Regions from separate parts of the Homo sapiens genome. Here all the other regions are linked to region 2. The links are contacts of gene promoters, found by promoter capture Hi-C in blood cells and fetal thymus (Javierre and others, 2016). All regions are on one chromosome and are shown on one strand. The core of a region is centred on a gene start or on the middle of the fragment in contact, and the rest is flanking DNA. Distances in the headings are between cores, read along the strand shown.

Region 1 (2,740 bases), core at 48-2,547, 740 kb before region 2:
CCATAATGTCTCAGTCCCAAGACTCAACTCTGCCATTATAGTCTGAAAACAGCGACAAACAATACATACAAGTATGAACATGGCTGTGTTCCAATAAAACTTTATTTACAAAAACAGGCATTGGGTCAGATTTGGCCTGAGGGCTGTAGTATGCCAATCCCTGATTTAAAGCAGGGCTCCTCAATCACCTCACAAATCTCCTCATTACAGGGAAAGGATGGGAAAAGAAGAAAGGAGGTGCCCCTGGAACCGGTAGATAAGCTGGAGCACCTTTCTAGCAGGAGGTGTGTAGAAGCCCCCACACCAAGTGTAAAGAAGGTGGTAGAAGACTTGGGTGTCAACTGTGTGTGGTGAATAACAATAGCCTTTTGGGAAGTCCTGATTTAGAAGAATAAGTAAGAAAGATGTAGCCTTTCTAACAAAACCTGGAGGGCAAGGGTTGGGTTTTACATACTTTCATAATAATACCTAACATACACTGGGTGCTCTGTTATGTGCTGGCTGCTGTGCTAAGCACTTTATATGCATTTTCTCATTTAGTACACCCCAAATTCTCAAGGAACAGGTATATTAGATAAGGAAACTGAAATTTGGAAAGACTCGTGATCATGGTTATCCAGAGTTCAATTTCAAGCAGTCTGACTCCAATGTCTGAATGCCTAACTCCCATACCATATTGCTTGTATCTTGTACAGGCCTAGCTCAGTACCATGTACAGGGCTGGATTCAGGACCATTCTATAACCATTCGTAGAACAAGCAAATGGATGGATGGATGGAAGGATGGATAGGGCTTTGATTTCTAGGTAAATCATTATCCATACAGTAGCTACTTGACCTTTGGCAGAATTGTTAACATGTTTATAAATAATCTTATGAAGCTATAGATTAGGTTTTCCAGGGAATTTGAAGGATTTTAGCCACAGGATGTCTCACACATTACCATAGTTTACTCGAAGTGTGAGGAATTTATCTTCTACAATTCAAATGTGGAGAATGGGGCATAGACAGATTATAGGCCTTCTTAATTGGAAAAAGTAAATAGTGAAAAAGCTAATGCAGTGTTATTCCAAAGAAGGGGTTTTCTTTACCAGGTTTGATGGGACAATGTAACTATCTGTCACAAGCATTTTCACAATTTTGTGGTGACTTACAGCAAAATATTAGTAGCTGTGTTGAATAAAAGTCTGCATTTTTGAAAAAGTGCAAAAGGAGACCGAGGTGGGTGGATTACCTGAGGTCAGGAGTTCAAGACCAGCCTGCCCAACATGATGAAACCCCGTCTCTACTAAAAATACAAAAATTAGCTGGGCGCAGTGGCACACGTCTGTAGTTTCAGCTACTGAGGCATGAGAATGGTTTGAACCTGGGGGAGGTTGCAATGAGCTTAGATGGTGCCACTGCACTCCAGCCTGGGTGACAGAGTGAGACCCTGTCTCAAGGAAAAGTAAATAAATGAATAAATAAAAAGAAAGAAACAGTGCAAGAGGGAAAAATATAGCTTATAAATAATTGATAAATGCCTGGTTTACTTTTTCATGTTTTTGCTTTGTTGGTTATTTTGAGGTTTTTTTTTTTTTTTAAATCCTTGCAATGTGTAGAGAAAGAAGGAAGTGAGAGAAATTAATTAATGTATTTCTCTATGTTCCCTTGGAGAATCATGGGCTTTGCATATTGAAAGTCATTTTCCTCTGATAATATGAGATTGTGCTGAAATTTCTGTAGTGGGACATGGGAAAGAGTGAGGCTGAGAAAAAGCATGAAAACCATCCCAAAGCCAGTGACTTTTGAGAATCTGGTGTGTACTAAGGGCTTGCTGGGAGACTAGTTTTGCAGCTTTTTCACTGCCTTTTCCAGAAACATCTGCTGCTAGTATTTTAATTGGTTCTTCTCATCCCCATAAATAGTCAATGACTTCTACATGATGTTGAGCTAACAAATCTTTTTCCCATTAAAAATGTTTTAAACTACAATAAATACACAAAACATAAAACTTGCTATTTTAACCATTTTAAGTGTATATACAATTCAGTGGCATTAAATAAATTCACAGTGTTGTGAATTATCACCACCATCCATCTCCACAACTTCTTTTAATCTTGCAAAACTGAAACTCCGTACCCATTAGACTAAACTTCCCATTCCCCTCTCTCCCTAGCCCCTGACAACCACTATTCTACTTCCTGTCTCTACTAGTTTGACTACTCAGATACTGTCTTAGTTCATTTTCTGTTGCTTATAACAGAATACCCCAAACTGGGTAACTTATGAAGAATAGGAATTTATTTCTTACAATTCTGGAGGCCGGAAAGTCCAACATTGAAGGGTCGCATCTGGTGAGAGCCTTATTGCTGGTGGGGGCTCTCCCTGCTGAGTCCCAAGGCGGTGCAGGGTATCACATGGTGAGGGGCTGAGCATGCTAATGTGCTGGTTCGGGTCTCTTTTATAAAGCCACCAGTTTCCCTCTCAGGATAACACATTAATCCATTAGTCCATGAATGGATTATTCCATTCATAAGGGCAGAGCCCTCACCACCCAATCACCTCTTAAAGGCCCTGCCTCTCAATATTGTTACATTGGGGATTAAGTTTCAACCTGAATTTTGCACGGGACATTCAAATCATAGCAGGTACCTCACAGAAGTGAAATAATACAGTATTTTTTTTTGTGACTGGCTTGTTCACTTCGCATAATGTCCTCAAGGATATACATCCTCAGAGCTGTCTTTCTTGACACTCCT
Region 2 (2,748 bases), core at 101-2,600:
GTGTGTACATATGTTTTCATCACTCTTGGGAGAATTCCTAGCAATTGGATTGTTAGTCATATATAGTAAGTGTATGTTGAATTTTATAAGAAACTGTCAAACTGACTTCCAGAACACCTTTGCTTTTTTGCGTTTCCCCCAGCAATGTATGAGAGTTTCAGTTGCTCTGCGTCTTCACCAGCATTTTGTATTTTCCTTTTTTTTCTTGTCTTGAGCCATCCTAATACATATGTAGTGGTATTTTATTGTGGCTTTAATTTGCATTTCCCTAATGACTAATGATGTCGAGCATCTTTTTGTGTGATTATGTGTTGTCAATATCCTTACTTTGTAATGTTTTATTTGAATCTTTTGCCCATTTTTAATTGGGTTGTCTGCTTTCTTATTATTGAGTTGTAAGAATTCTTTATACATTCTAAATGTCGGTACTTCATCAGAAATGCATTTTACAGATATTTTCTCCCAGTTTGTAGCTTGTTTTTATTTTCTTAACAGGGTTTTTCGAAGAGCAGACAACTGCTCTTCAAGTTGTTTTTTAACTGTACTGAAGAACAAAGAAATTTTTATAAATATCTGCCACATGCTAAACTTTTATTGGCGCTGGAATTACAATAATGGCTAAGCTTAAAGTTGTATTTTTCCTTTTTAGCAAAATTGGCATTGATTGGTTTCTTGTCTACTTTTTCACTATCTTATCGTTAATATTTCTACATCATTAAATATTATTTGAAAACATGATTGTAAGGTATACTCTCACAGTGATTTCTTGATTCATCTTAACTATCCCTCTGTATTTGGAGATGTTTATCTTGATTCCCATCAATATTTTAAAAAGAAAAGAAGCATATGATTCCCATCCTTGCGCAGAAATCTCTGTATACATTTCCAATTATTTTCTTAGTATAAATGCTTATAATTGCAAAAACTGGGACAGAGGCACAGGACTTTGCTCTATACCTGTCTCTTTAGAAAGACTACAGATGTCCTGAAGCAAAGAGCTTGTCTTGGCCCCCTTGTCATGCCAGAATATGACAAAAGCCTGTTACATTGCAGGTGCACTATACACACTTGAGGGATCAACGGTTGGAGAGAAAAAGAATTCCACTGAACTCCATCCTCTCCCTTTCCTCCTGTGGAAAAAAAAGAAAGAAAAGAATATCCTGTCTCCTGCAGACATCTACCTTGCCTTCCCAGATGAAGGGAAGAAGAAAGTCTTCTTCTAAGAGAAAACTTGCCAAGGAGATGCAGGTTTCCCAGAGAGCTGGATGACAAGCCCTGTTGCTGCTCAGCAATGCCCTTAAGGGGCCCTGCCCCCTGCCTTTATAAAGCCGGTGCGGTGGTGGGGCAGCCACAGCTGGCATTCAGCCTCCAGAGCACCAGCACTGGCACTGGCACTGGCACACGCTATGGCAAATGAAGTGCAAGACCTGCTCTCCCCTCGGAAAGGGGGACATCCTCCTGCAGGTAGGCTGCCACCTGCCCTCAGTCCTGCAGGCTGTTGCTGCTCCCCTCTTCCACCAATGCCTTCCATGGAGCACCCCGACAGACGGAAGCTTCTCTGTCTACCCAGTATGACTTTAACTCCATGCAGCCTGACTTCCTCTTATGTCTTTGATCCTTCTTAGCTTGTATGTAAATCCACCCGGGGATTTGTCAGACCCCCAGTGAGTTAAAACCTAATTACCTACGGCAGTGTATGGATTTGGGGCTTGTGGAAAGGCATAGGTAGAGAGGTTGCACCTTTCCTCCCTCGAGGCAGCATTCCTTTCACGGGGCCCTGGCTGTAGATTAGCAGTGACACATCTACACCAGGAAGATGATTTGCTACCATGGAAACCTTTCTCTTTAGAGGTTCCAGCTGTAAGACTCAGTCTCCCCAAGATGCCTGTGCATCATGTGACTTCCTACCCAGGCAAAGCAGCTTCTGCACAGAGGACAACAATCACATTTCTTTCTCCCTCCTCAGGCTTTGGGGATGTATTTACCTGTCAACAAGCTGAGAAGTACTTTTAAATAAAGACACAGGACTTGAGGAGGCTGACTGGAAAAAGTAGCTGTCAAGGTGTTTGCAAAGCATCCATAGTTGTCTTTTTTTTTAATTTATGCTATCTATATTGACTCTCTGGAATATGGAAATTAGTTTTATTGTACTTAACCATATGTTCATATAGATTGGCTGAGGTGTACAGGCCTATTTTTAGTCAGTTTTATATTCTTCCAACTGCCTTCCTTCTTTTTTACTGAAGAAAGAACTCAAAAGCTTGACTGCTTTGTTCTTGCCTTTCTCCATTTACAAAAACATATTTACTGTCTAATTCTCTGGCACCTCTAGGCCAAGGTTATTTCAATAATCTTTGCTGCAGAGGGTGATGGCGGGTATTGTCTTCACAGAGAGTCAAAATGTAACATTGTTTTGGTGGCTTTCCGGCGGGTAGCCTGGCCAAAAAGAGTCCAGATTTTACTACTCATTCTGAGTTTCCAGCTCTAGACATCTTGGTCTGATCTCCTCTGGTAGATTACTGATGTTTTATATTTGTAATCAAATTTAGCAATATTTAACATTACCTATATTTAAAGTTAATTATGCTAGCTAATAGTCAGGAAGTATATATGCAAATCATTGGAAGACAGGCTCCTTACATAGACAAAGACAAAAGAAAAAAGAACTCCATTCTCATTATGTTGTTTCCACTCCAACCCTTCATAAAATGGCTAAGATGAAACCTGTTTTGCTAAACTACATTTATG
Region 3 (2,762 bases), core at 262-2,761, 700 kb before region 2:
TTAGAAAGAAAGAAACCCAGAAGGAAGGAGATCTGAGAAGCAATTGTGATCAAAGACATTGGCAGACATGGATAATGTAAATTATTATTAACTATCAACAAAGTGGTAACCATAAGACTAAAAGGGAGGAAGGGATGAAAACAAGATAGATTAAGTTACTTTATACCAAAATGTGAAGTAGTAATTAGAGTTAAATTGTTCCAAGTTGCTTGTGTTATGCAGAAGAGTATAGGTATTAATTAGCTTTGAATTGTATTAAGTATGCTTGTTGAAATGTAAGGGTAACTATTGAAAGAATAGAAATAAAATATATAACTTCCAAAATAACAGAGGGAAATGGGGTCTGCAAAGAATCATGTAATCATTTTTTTTTCTCACTTTGCCACCCAGGCTGGAGTGCAGTGGCATGATCTCGGCTCACTGCAACCTCCGCCTCCCGGGTTCAAGTGATTCTCGTGCCTCAGCCTCCCCAGAAGTAGGGACTACAGGTGCACGCCATCATGACTGGCTAATTCTTGTATTTTTAGTAGAAATGGGGTTTCACCACATTGGCTAGGCTGGTCTCAAACTCCTGACGTCAAGTAATCTGTCCACCTCAGCCTCCCAAAGTGCTGGGATTACAGGCGTGAGCCATTGCGCCCAGCACAGAGAACTTAATCATTCTATAGAATGTAGGAAGGCGGTAAAAAGAAACATACACACACACACACACACACACACACACACACACAATTAGAAAAAAAATAAGAAGAAAGGAGTAAAAATATATCAGGAATCACAGTATTTGTAAATGTATTAAACATAGATAAAAGACAACTTTTTGAAAATCCATTGATGTATTGTTTACCTGATACACTCCTAAAACATAATGACATGGAAAGTTTGGAAGTAAAGGACAATATATATAACCAACAAAGGATCAGTATTCATCATATATAAAAATCTCCTACAAATTAGTAAGACAAAAATAAAATACCCAAAAGAAAATACGGGCAAAGAATGGAGAAGAAAGCTGAAAGACTGCCAAACATATATAAAGGCGTTTAATCTCACTAGTAATCAGGGAAATGAAATAAAGCAAAGAGATACCATTTTACAGTCATCACATTAACAAAAGAATTATAAGGCTAACAACATCAGATTTATTGGCAACAATATGGGGAAATGGGGTTTATTATACACTGTTGACAAAAGTGTAACTTGGTAAAACTATTAGGTAGGGCAATGTAATACTATCTAGTAAAACTGAATACATGCAAACATATTATTACCACACATTAGAGAAACTCTTATGTGCATACACAAGAAGATACCCATAAGGATGTTTACAGGAAAAAATTGGAAGCAACATAAAAAAGCCAGTTTTAAAAATATATATATAGTATATGTTACATTTATATATATATGCCATATATTATATATACATATGATTCTTATATATACATATCTACCATATATATACATATACCATATACATACACACACGCACACACCTTAAACCTGCTCATGTAGTTATTAAGTACATACTTATAAGTACGAGTTTTAACATATACCCCAAAAGCATACCTACCAACTCTTCACCTTTAGGACAGTGATTACCTTCAGGAAGAAAGTGAAGGTAATCTAAAGTAAGGAAGGTGACAGGGCTTTAATGAAATCTTTCCTTTAAAAAAAAATGTGTTAAATATGGCAAAATGTAACAATTGTTAAATTTGGGTAGTAACTACACAGGCATCTAATATATCTGTACCTTTATGTTTAAATGTTTTAAAATTAAAAATTTTAACTATAGTAACTAACATGAAGTAGTCACAAAGACCTAACAATCACCACAGCAACAGTATTTTCTGTTTAGTTACTTTAAATAAAAAACCAAGTAAAGTGTTCAAAAGAATAACATTTTTGAAAAGTCATGACATGCCTAAGGTGAAGCATTTACAGAAATGTCAATGTGACCATGATTATACAACCAAGGTTTTCTACTTCCTTAGAAAAAAAATTAATGGTTAACTCAATATATTGCACTTAGTAATGTTAAGAGAGTTCCATAAAACATACTGTTCTCTTTCACTCAGCTAAACCTAAATTAGAATCAGTCAGCTTTGAAATTTCATGACTTTGGGGGCCTAGAATTCACCACCTCCACAATGTATTAGCATTATTTTCCCATCTGAGCCCTCTTGGGCAGCAGCAGTAATAATCTGTGGTGTGTGTTAGAGGTTAGGACTGAACCTTCCTTGAGTTCCCAGGAAAATCACCCCCTCTCCCTTCAGTGTGGGGTTTGTCAAACTCACAGAGCTTCCTCCAGCTGTGGAGGCTGATTTCCCAATGTACTTCATGATCTGGTTAAGCGCTTTCATCAGGTGCTGAAAGACTAACACGGGCTTTAATCTCCAAGGCTTGAAGTCACCAGAATGGCCAGTCACAGGCAGTGAGGAAGCCAGGCTAGGAGACCAGCAGAAACAGAGCCTCTCAGCCCTCATACCCTTTAACTAATATTTCAGGGACAGCTCAGGGGCAGACAGAAATTGCTCCAGACAGGGTGGTGAGTTGGGCCCTGCTATTTGGGTAAAATCATAGGGAAGTGATGAGCCTGAGATGAGTTAATCGTAAAGTGTGTGTGAGAGACATTTTAAGGGTCAATTTAAAATTTGGCAATGAGATGACTTTAAAATCAGCTTTAGGACTGGGCCATCATTTTGATGGGGCCATCTTGTTCATCAGCATTCAAAGAACACACAGCTGCTATGGTTTAACTGTGC
Region 4 (2,725 bases), core at 82-2,581, 760 kb before region 2:
CTTAATTTGGCTCTTTGAAGGGACTTCCGAGATTTTGAGGCCCTGGAGGAGGCTTAGGGATGGGTGAGGAGTGCAGAGATCTGGGAAACCTGAGCTGTTGGAACATCTCCAGGACCGCTGAGGTTCCGAGCCAGCTCTATTCTAACAAGGATCTGCAGAGGCAGCCAGTGTCGGTTTGGAAGGCCATAGTTATCTTTCCAGTTGGTAACACATAAAGCTGTTTAATCAGATACATGAACTTCTTTGTATAACTCACTCAAACCACAACTCTACCATCAGAAGGCTATGAAATAACATTGAGAAAGTAGATTCAATGTCTGCCACAATCCAGGTGACTGCATTTCCTACATTTTTGGTTTTCTTCAAAACTGGAATCCCTTGGATGGGTAAAATACTAGCGTTCTTTCTTTAGCAATTTCCTCGTGTTTTAAAAGGTGGTTAGAATTTGATCGTGATCATGATCATCACCATTATCACCAAGATACCTCCCTCGAGTATGTTCATCATTCAGAGCACACATCTTCATACAGCTGAATATTGTGTTCCCCTCTGGGTGGCAACTTTCATGAGAGACTCTGGAAACCAGAAATTTCCCAGGAGAGAGCTGCCGGAATGGTACAGGGTCTGTAAACTATGATAGATGAAGATCAAAAGAATTGGGGAATCTCTGCTCTGGAGAAGAGAATCCTGACAAAAATTGAGAGCTAGCAGCTGCTTGTAATGCAGCATTGGGAGCAGATATTGCTGATTTTGGCTTAGTAGAAATAAGAACTTAATAAAACTTATAGCTATTCAATATTGGAGTGGGTCAGGATGAAGTCATGCACATCCTGTCACCAGAAATGTTCATGGCGAGACTGGGGAAACATCTTTCAGGGATGCCATGTAGGGGACCCCCTCCATGGGCTAAGTTGTGGTGAAAAGTTCTGGGTTTGAACTGGGGAGTCAAACAGGTATATGACAAAGAGCTTACCTCTGAGGGGCCTGTGGTCTTCCAGAACAAAGGCTGCCTACATGAAAATATAAGCAACAACCTAAGGAAGTGTATGACATAGGACAGGGGAAATATTAAGAGCTGTGGGTGGTGAGGGCAGTGGCAGAGGAGGGCTTCATTAGGAGGTGGGACATGGGGGAGGTGCTGAAACATGGCTGGGACTGAGATCACTGGAGAGGAAGACTCAGGGCTGCATTTGGGGCTACGGGGAGCATTGTGAACAAAAGACTGTGCTGGAACACAGTATGTCTGGGACAGAGGAGGATTTGTGAGGATACAGATCATAAAATTAGAGAGCACTACAAAGGCTGGATTCTGGAAATCCATGAGTTCCAGGTTATTGAAGTAAATCCTCTAATGGTTTTTGAGTTGCTAAATAGCAATGCTTTTCATATCTGACAGGCAGCACAGGTTTCTTTGTGCAGGGACACAGAGAGGCCAAATGTTAAGGTAGGAAGCAAGTAATATCATGGCATTTTCCTGACCTCTTTCATCTCTGCAGGCTCTGGCCCTAACAGGCTTTTAGGGGGAAATTGTACATTCCTTCTGGTATTTACCAGTATTGGCCTACCCATCCTTAAACCCTCAAATCCCGCTGTATAATTACCCCTAGGAGGCCAGGGGTCATTTAGAACACCAAATGTAGGCAACACCCAGCTATTAGAACTCAAACTTCAGAGCTCTACCTAAATTCTGGCCTGAAGCATACTGAAGATGGGAGGGGGGCCCCAAAGGTGGAGGACCTTTGAGCATGGTGTTTCTTTCTTGAAATAAAGGTGTTTAGTTTCTGAGGTTGGCCTGGGCAGGCTGTGTTCCTGTATAGGGAAGGGTATAGCTCCACTCCCAGGGAGGTCTCTCTGCCACACTAGAGCCCTGGCGGCAAAAAGGCTTACAGATGCTCTCACACTCACCTACTCTCCTGCTTTCTGCATTTAGCTGGGCTCTTAGGGAGGAAAACTGAGATGAGACTCAGGGGTGCTCTTATGACTGCAGATGGGATGGGTGGTTCCAGGAGGGAATGCTGAAGAATAGCTTCTCCAGAAGGGATCTTCCAGGGAGCTTGAGGGGAGCCAGCCAGCCAGCCAGCCAGTGAGTACTCCTCCTCTTTCCTGGGAAGAAGGAGAAGAGGCTGGGGAATGGGCGGTCCAGCAGTTGGTCTCCATGTAGGGCAATTCCTTGGCAAGATAGCAGCAATAACTAACTAGTTCTATGCAAGATCTACCTGCAGGCAGCTGTCCAACACGTTATAATTAAAGGGGTTCCACAAGCCCACTTTTCCAAGTAGTTTCTGTTATTAGCCTATCCTCAGGTTTAAAATGCTACCATTAGGAGAGATTCACTGGACTTTAGCACAAATCTCACCCCAAGGTTCTCTTAAAACATGCAGTTTCACAAGGATGCAATGAAATTAGTTTATTTGCTTATTCCAACCTGTTGAGAAGAGTGCATTGCCCTGAAAACATTAGGAGTTGGAGAAGGCAGCCAAAGACAACCAGATGTTTTGAGAGTGGACAGTACCAAGGGTCACCTTTACTTCCTTCAGGATTTGCTCTGGGGCAACACAGACCCGGTCAAGCAGCATCTCCTGGCTCTGGCAACCCAGAGAACAGTGTAAGGCTCCACACTTGGAAGTGGATACTTTTCAAGCTAGCTGTATGTTCAGTCTCTCCAGGAGGAAAAGCCATAAGAATCTAGGAGTTTGACCATGATCATGAATTCCAACCTTCCACC

Evidence for each region. The method cuts DNA at HindIII sites, captures the fragments that hold promoters and counts their contacts. A CHiCAGO score of 5 or more calls a contact.
Region 1: a contact is called between a fragment that was not itself captured here and the fragment with the promoter of DAPL1 in region 2, in 1 of 17 cell types (non-activated CD4 T cells). The highest score is 6.3, in non-activated CD4 T cells.
Region 3: a contact is called between a fragment that was not itself captured here and the fragment with the promoter of DAPL1 in region 2, in 1 of 17 cell types (activated CD4 T cells). The highest score is 5.9, in activated CD4 T cells.
Region 4: a contact is called between a fragment that was not itself captured here and the fragment with the promoter of DAPL1 in region 2, in 2 of 17 cell types (endothelial precursors and megakaryocytes). The highest score is 6.6, in endothelial precursors.

The regions. Positions count from the first base shown.
Region 1 is chr2:158,052,820-158,055,559 of GRCh38, forward strand. It overlaps a transcript of UPP2 not described here. Among named protein-coding and RNA genes, the nearest start is that of UPP2, 48 kb to the right of the region's middle. The HindIII fragment of the contact is 3,422 bases long and covers 1-2,740 here.
Region 2 is chr2:158,793,967-158,796,714 of GRCh38, forward strand. It overlaps DAPL1 (death associated protein like 1), which reads left to right and starts at 1,351. Exons shown (of 4, transcript NM_001017920.3): 1 at 1,351-1,464. The coding sequence starts at 1,407. The HindIII fragment of the contact is 930 bases long and covers 622-1,551 here.
Region 3 is chr2:158,092,576-158,095,337 of GRCh38, forward strand. It overlaps a transcript of UPP2 not described here. Among named protein-coding and RNA genes, the nearest start is that of UPP2, 7.9 kb to the right of the region's middle. The HindIII fragment of the contact is 3,550 bases long and covers 1-2,762 here.
Region 4 is chr2:158,031,447-158,034,171 of GRCh38, forward strand. It overlaps a transcript of UPP2 not described here. Among named protein-coding and RNA genes, the nearest start is that of UPP2, 69 kb to the right of the region's middle. The HindIII fragment of the contact is 6,606 bases long and covers 1-2,725 here.